2 separate regions of the Homo sapiens genome follow, and region 2 is linked to region 1. The links are contacts of gene promoters, found by promoter capture Hi-C in human tissues and cell types (Jung and others, 2019). All regions are on one chromosome and are shown on one strand. The core of a region is centred on a gene start or on the middle of the fragment in contact, and the rest is flanking DNA. Distances in the headings are between cores, read along the strand shown. Region 1 holds the start of VHL (von Hippel-Lindau tumor suppressor). Region 2 overlaps CIDEC (cell death inducing DFFA like effector c).

Region 1 (3,874 bases), core at 1-2,500:
TCTTACCTAGGGTTGGCTAGTTCCTACTCCATCCTGCTCTCTTCCTTCTCCGGGAAGTGCTCCTTAACTGAAACCACACAACCGCAACCCCTCCATCTCCCAGCAGGCAGGTAAGTCAATTTCCCACGCCACACACGGTCGGCTCTTCCGGCGCCAACATGACCCTGGCTTGTTCCTGTCTTTGCATCTGTCAGTCTCCCCAGGAGGAATGTGTTCTCCACGAGGGCAGGGACTACGCAGAACTGGCCCACTGGAGTCATGAGGACTGAACAGATGGGGTGTTAAGGATGCAGCTTTTCTTTGAGGGGAAAATACACGTGGGGTGGGGGACTGGGGGGAGCCACCTTCAAATGCAAACTATTCGGCCTTATAAAGAATGCTCTGGGCCGGGCGCGGAGGCTCATGCCCATAAGCCCAGCACTTTGGGAGGCCGAGGCGGGCGGATCACGAGGTCAGCAGTTCGAGACCAGCCTGACCAACATGGTGAAACCCCGTCTCTACTAAAAATATAAAAATCAGCCGGGCGCGGTGGCGCACGCCTGTAATCCCAGCTACTCAGGAGGCTGAGGCAGGAGAATCGCTTGAACCCGGGAGGCGGAGGCTGCAGTGAGTCGAGATCGCGCCACTGCACTCCAGCCTGGGCGACAGAGCGAGACTCCGTCTCAGAAAAAAAAAAAAAAAAAAAAGAATGCTCTGACGCTTACGAGCAGCGTCACCCTGGATGTGTCCTGCCTCAAGGGGCCTCAGTTCCCCGTCTGCAAAATGGACCCCGGGGCGGTAGAGGGGCTTCAGACCGTGCTATCGTCCCTGCTGGGTCGGGCCTAAGCGCCGGGCCCGTACCTCGGTAGCTGTGGATGCGGCGGCCCGTGCCAGGCGGCAGCGTTGGGTAGGGCTGCGGCTCGCCGTCGAAGTTGAGCCATACGGGCAGCACGACGCGCGGACTGCGATTGCAGAAGATGACCTGGGAGGGCTCGCGCGAGTTCACCGAGCGCAGCACGGGCCGCGGCCGCCCGGCCTCCATCTCCTCCTCGGCGCCCAGTTCCTCCGGGCCGGACTCTTCCGGGCCGGACTCCTCGGCGCCCGACTCCTCCCCGCCGTCTTCTTCAGGGCCGTACTCTTCGACGCCTGCCTCCTCCGCGCCTACCTCGGCCTCGTCCCAGTTCTCCGCCCTCCGGGGCATTCCCTCCGCGATCCAGACCACCCGGGCCGGACGCCGCGGGATCCGCGGGTCGGACGCGGGGCGGAGCTGCGTGCGCGCTCCCGAGTCGACCTCCGTAGTCTTCGCGCGCGCTCGGTAGAGGATGGAACGCGCTCGCGGAAATAGCCGGCCGGAGGCTGTGCGCGTGCGCAGAAGGATCCTCCAGCACCGTAGGCCGTTGTAACGGAGGCGAGGCTAGGCCAACTCGTTACTGTATTTCCACTATAAAATTTTTTTTCGCCCCTCTAAGGTTTGGTGTTTTTTTTTTTTTTGAGACAGGGTCTCACTCTGTCGCCCGGGCTGGAGTGCAGTGGCGCGAGCTTGGCTCACTGCAGCCTTGACCTCCCTGGCTCAAGCGATCGTCTCGCCTCAGCCTCCCGAGTAGTTGGTACTGTAGGCGCGCACCACCATGCCCGACTAATTATTTTTATTTGTTGTTTGAAACGGAGTCTCGCTATGTTGCCTAGGCTGGTCTCGAACTCCTGGGTTCAAGTGATCCTCCTGCCTTGGCCTCTCAAAGTGCAGGGATTACAGGCCTTAGCCACTGTGCCTGGTGGACTAACTGAATTTTTTTTTTCTTCATGTCAGACGCGCAATGTGCCGACGTCGTAACAAGGTTCGAGGGTGGCGCATCTCACACGGGAACACCCAATCATCACGCTTATAAAGTACAAAAAGTCAACTAACTGAATTCTTACAAGGCATGGGTGATTAGTAAAGAGGGAAAAATAATTAGACCTACTATGTGCAGAGCACTCTGGTGGAAATTGGAAAATCAGATATTTACTTCAGAGCAATTAAAACTACAAACATAAACACTCATTAACTTTGTTCATTTTACAAATATTTATTAAGGCCCTACTATGTACCACCTATGGTGATAAGTGTTGAAAATATTGTAAAAACCGGTCATGTTTCCTGCCTTCACTGCACTTCAATAAAAGCGTCATACGGTAATCAATCACACAAATAAAATAGCAACTATGGCCGGGTGCAGTGGCTCATGCCTGTAATCCCAGTACTTTGGGAGGCTGAAGTGGGCTGATCACAAGGTCAGGAGTTCTAGACCAGCCTGACAACATGGTGAAACCTCGTCTCTACTAAAAATACAAAAATTAGCCTGGCGTGGTGGTGCGCGCATGTAATCCCAGCTACTTAGGAGGCTGAGGCAGGAGAATTGCTTGAACCCGGGAGGCGGAGGTTGCAGTGAGCTGAGATTGTGCTACTGCACTGCAGCCTGGGTGACAGAATGAGACTCTGTCTCAAAAAAAAAAAAAAAAAAAGTGCAACTGTGACTAGTACGACAAAAAGAGACAGGGTACTATAGAAGGCTAAAGATCTGGGGGTCAAGGAAGATGGTACACAATTCTGTGTAATTAAATGTTCAATGATGTGGGATGGACTCAAGTGGAGAAGCAGCTCAGAAAAAGAAGGGTTCAGAGAGTTTTATATTAGTTAAAAATAATTTTTTTTTAGACAGTCTCGCTTTATCACCCAGGCTGGAGTGCAGTGGCTCAGTCTCAGCTCACTGCAACCTCCATCTGCCGAGTTCAAGTGATTATCGTGCCTCAGCCTCTGGAGTAGCTGGGATTACAGGTGTGTGCCACCACACCCAGGTAATTTTTGTACTTTTAGTAGAGACGGGGTTTCACCATGTTTGCCAGGCTGGTCTTGAACTCCTCACCTCAGGTAATCTGCCTGCCTTGGTTTTCCCAAGTGCTGGGATTACAGGTGTGAGCCACCGTGCCCAGCTCAAAAATAAATTTCAAGTAGAAAGAAAAAAATCTATCAAGTGCCAGACACTGTGCTAAGCATCCCACGTGAATTAAGGCTATGTCATTATCTCCATTTCACAGCTAAGGAAACAGAAGGGTATATAAGAATGTGAAGGCCTAGCACTATACGCCTGTAATCCCGAGATTTTGGGAGCCCAAGGCAGGTGGATCACTTGAGTTCAGGAGTTGGAACCAGCCTGGGCAACATAGCGAGGTCCTGTCTCTATAAAAAATGAAAGAATTAGCCAGGCATAGTGGCGTGCACCTGTAGTCCCAGCTACTCAGGAGGCTGAAGCAGGAGGATCACTTGAGCCTGGGAGGTTGAGGCTGCAGTAAGCCGTGATCATGCCACTGCACTCCAGCCTGGGCAACAGAGCCAGACTCTGTCTCAGAAAAAAAAAAAAATGTGAAAAGGGTAGTCAAAATGCTGGATCAGAGAGGCTCATCACCTGATGCCTTAGGAGAAAATGACAGTATGAGTGAACCTCAGGAGTTGGATATCTCCACAAAAGCACTGACACCATGAACCTAAGTAATTTTGCCTAGGGCTCTCCTTGACAGCTCACTGCACAGAGATGGTGTATCCTGGTGGCCTCCAGCAGGATTAAGTGACCAGCAGTGATGCTGGACCCCCAGCTACATTAACAACATGAAAACACTGTAGAGAAAAATCCCAAAGTAGGCCAGACGCAGTGGCTCATGCCTGTAATCCCAGCACTTTGGGAGGCCAAGGTGAGCAGATCACTTGAGGTCAGGAGTTTGTGACCAGCCTGGCCGACATGGTGAAATCCCATCTCTACTAAAAATACAAAAAATTAGCCAGCATGGTGGCCTGCGCCTGTAATCCCAGCTACTCGGGATGCTGAGGCAGGAGAATCACTTAAACCCCAGAGGCAGAGGT
Region 2 (3,874 bases), core at 658-3,157, 280 kb after region 1:
TTCAAGCGATTCTCCTGCCTCAGGCTCTGGAGTAACTGGGATTACAGTCACCCACCACTATGCCTGCCTAGTTTTTGTATTTTTAGTAGAGACAGAGATTCGCCATGTTGGCCATGCTAGTCTCAAACTCCTGACCTCAGGTTACCCGCCCTCCATGGCCTCCCAAAGTGCTAGGATTACAGGCGTGAACGCCATGCCCGACCTACTTCGTGGTTTTGACTTGCGTGCCCTCTCATTCCACCCAGGGAAGCTTTCCGCTGGGCCCTCTTCAGCATGCAGGCCACAGGCCACGTACTGCTTGGCACCTCCTGTTACCTGCAGCAGCTCCTCGATGCTACGGAGGAAGGGCAGCCCCCCAAGGGCAAGGCCTCATCCCTTATCCCGACCTGTCTGAAGATACTGCAGTGAAAGCCCAAGTCCTTGGAAGCTTTCCCCAGTGAAGGACTGACTGGGGGCCTCACGCTTAACTGGTAGTGCCCACAAGCCTGGCAGCTGTAGAGCCGCGAACCTCCCCACACCTCCCTCACCGCGCAGGACCCTGAGTGAGGAGGAGGAGCTGGAAACCTGGGGTGGGTTGGCCAAAGGAGAACCTCAAGCTCCTGGCCTGATCCAGCTCCTTCCTGCCCAAGGCAGCTTAGCCCATCCAGACTGGTCCTGAAGTCTGTCCCTCCATTGGCATGAAGTCTGCCCCTTAGCAATCTGGCCTCGCAGGCTGTACTTTCATGGTGCTCTCTACCTTCTGGCCCCCATCCCGGAACATTCCTGAGTGAATTCGCAAGCGCACTAGCATGTGATATTAGGGAGTTTGCAATAAATTATTGAGGCTGATGTATCTTCTTTGCCTGTGTTCTTTGGGGTGGGGTTTTATCTGGAAGGTTGGAGGGGGCTAAAGGAAGAGACGAATCTATTGTCAAAGTATTCTCTTTAATGTAGGATTACAGCTAATGGCACTTTTTCTACCAAAGAAGAAAAAAAAAAACAGCTGGGCACAGTGACACGTGCCTGCAGTCCCAGATACTCAGCAAGCTGGGGTGGAAGCATCCCTTGAGACCAGGAGTTCAAGGCCAGGCTGGAGCACAATAGCAAGACCCCAGGCTCCTTAAAAAACAAAATTGCAGTTGATTTTGAAACTAAAGTCAGCTGAATTTGAGGCTTGAGCTGACCATGTAATTGATACCATAAGTAACAATTTCCTAATTAAATTCACCTATCAGAGGAGCTTCAATTGAGCAGGTGGGATTAAGTCACTCTTCTAATTTCTCAGTGTCCCATTTTATAATAACCGTTTAAGTGGTTAGGTGAAAAAGTACTACTCAAGCTGTAAGGCATTTCTCCATCAATGCCCATCCTAACTTGCCAGACAGCTTATCTTTCATGTTCAGGACTTTCAACCTCGGGATTTCAAAGTGGGCTCATAGGTAGCCCCAAAGAGTAGGAGCTTCTCATCAGTGTGAGCTGGCATTTTCCAGTATTGGACAACTCAAGACAAGCATGAAAGGCTGAACTTAGGCTGGGCATGGTGGCTCACGCCGTAATCCCAGCACTTTGGGAGGCCGAGCCAGGCAGATTACCTGAGGTCAGGAGTTCAAGACCAGCCTGACCAACATGGTGAAACCCGGTTTCTATTAAAAACAAAAAAATTAGCTGGCCAGCATGGCAGGCGCCTGTACTCCCAGCTGTTTGGGAGGCTGAGGCAGTAGAATCGCTTGAACCTGGGAGGCAGAGGTTGTGGTAAGCCAAGATCGTGCCACTGCACTACAGCCTGGGTGACAGAGCGAGACTCCATCTCAAAAAAAAAAAAAAAAGGCTGAACTTGTAGAACTTGTAGGTGACTGTTTTATTTAGTCTGTGACTGAAAGATTTAAAAACTTGGCCAGGTGCAGTGGCTCATGCCGGATATCCCGGCACTTTGGGAGGCTGAGGCAGGAGTATCGCTTGAGGCCAGGAGTTCAAGAGCAGCCTGGGCAACATAGCCAGACCCTGTCTCTACACTAGATAATAAAAAAAAATTAGCAGAGCATGGTGGCTGTAGTCCCAGCTACTCAGGAGCCTGAGGCAGGAGGTTCACTGGAGCCCAGTAGGTCGCGGCTGCAGTGAGCTATGATTGTGCCACTGCACTCCAGCCTGGGCAACAGAGTGAGAGCCTGTCTCTGGGAAAAAAAAAAAAGAGGATTCAAAAACTCTATCACAGCCAGCCGCAGTGGCTCACGCCTGTAATCCCAGCGCTTTGGGAGGCCAAGGCGGGTGGATCACAAGGTCAGGCATTTGAGAGCAGCCTGGCCAACATGGCCAAATCCCGTCTCTACTAAAAGTACAAAATATTGGCCGGGCATGGTGGTGGGCACCTGTAATCTCAGCTACTCGGGGGGCTGAGGCAGGAGAATTGCTTGAACCTGGGAGGTGCAGGTTGCAGTGAGCCGAGATTGTGCCATTGCACTCTAGCCTGGACGACAGAGTGAGACTCCGTCTCAAAAAAGAAACAAACAAACAAAAAACGAAAAACAAAACAAAACCTATTGTTTCACTACTCTTACTATAAAGCCTATTTGGATGTAGTAAATACTAAGGCAAAGGCCTATATTACCAAAGATGGTCTGGGAGCTATTTATGGCAGCGGACCCAAACCCTGCAGCCTATGGGCAAAGCGGCTGAAGCTCGCTGAAGAGGGCCTGCTATTCCGGGCTCTCCTGCTCTTTTGCAGTTATGGCTGGAGGCTGGCCCGGTGCCAGGCTGGCTCCATGGGGTGGGCTGTCTGGCAGGGAGGCCTGATGTTTGTATTAGCACAGAAGCTATCCCAGTCCACCCTTGATGAAGCTGTGGCGGGGCCTACCTGCTCCTTCCGTAAAGTGCTCAGTAACAGAGTTGGAGTGGGGGTGGGAGGCTCGGTATTTGTCCCAAGCTTCCCTCCTCCTGAGATCCGGAGTTTCACAAGTGAATCTTGAGCAACTGCCCATGGTCTCTTGGCATTGAGCCCAGGGAAAACAAGGTTCTTTCTTTTCTTCCAGGAGCTCGAGGCTAATGGAGTCAAAGCAGCTGTGGTCAGTGAACAGAAAAGGCAGCCTCTGATGAGGCTTGGGGGCTGGGGAGGGAAGATTCCAAACAGCAAAGGAGTTTGAGCCTCTGTAGGGCCTGGCGGTCCTAGTGGGGGAACGGCCTTTCCTGGGGCCCCCCGCACAGCCAGGAGCAGCTGTCGTCAAGGTGGACTGTGTCCCAGCCCCTCCAGCTCAGCCTTTTCATCTGTTCAAGCTGGTGCTCGGGAGTGCACAGGATGCCTTTCAGAAGAATTCTAAATCCCGGGGGCCTGTGATGCCACAGTCACATGTCTGAGCCCAAAACAAGAGAACCACTTGTGTTTTTGCCACTCTTCTTACCAGCGATGCCCATATTTGTGCATATAATTTTTTTTTTTTTGAGACGCAGTCTCACTCTGTCGCCTGGGCTGGAGTGCAGTAGTGTGATCTCGGCTCACTGCAAGCTCCGCCTCCCGGGTTCATGCCATTCTCCTGCCTCAGCCTCCCAAGTAGCTGGGACTACAGGCACCCGCCACCACGCCCAGCTAATTTTTTGTATTTTTAGTAGAGACGGGGTTTCACCGTGTTAGCCAGGATGGTGTCGATCTCCTGACCTCGTGATCCGCCGGCCTCGGCCTCCCAAAGTGCTGGGATTACAGGCGCAAGCCACCGCGCCCGACCCATATATGTATTTTTTGTGGGGTGGGGGAAATACTGATTCTGAGATGTGTGCTGCCTGGAATCCCATGGCCACCGTGACCAGGGTTGTAGGGGGCCCAGGGGCCCAGGGTCTTTGATGTCAGCCGCATCTCCTGGCCAGCATTGACCCAGGGGTCCCACGTCAGCTGGTTTAGTGGGGGCCG

What was found. Contacts are between HindIII fragments. The study calls those that stand out against the background at their distance.
Region 2: a contact is called between a fragment that was not itself captured here and the fragment with the promoter of VHL in region 1, in 2 of the 25 tissues and cell types used here (dorsolateral prefrontal cortex and hippocampus).

What each region holds. Positions count from the first base shown.
Region 1 is chr3:10,139,154-10,143,027 of GRCh38, reverse strand. It overlaps VHL (von Hippel-Lindau tumor suppressor), which reads right to left and starts at 1,250. Exons shown (of 3, transcript NM_000551.4): 1 at 841-1,250. The coding sequence starts at 1,180. It also overlaps the pseudogene LOC124906359. RefSeq lists an enhancer at 1-333. The HindIII fragment of the contact is 25,425 bases long and covers 1-3,874 here.
Region 2 is chr3:9,863,668-9,867,541 of GRCh38, reverse strand. It overlaps CIDEC (cell death inducing DFFA like effector c), which reads left to right. Exons shown (of 7, transcript NM_001321142.2): 7 at 246-828. The coding sequence ends at 408. Among named protein-coding and RNA genes, the nearest start is that of CIDEC, 15 kb to the left of the region's middle. RefSeq lists a silencer at 3,163-3,457. The HindIII fragment of the contact is 3,135 bases long and covers 340-3,474 here.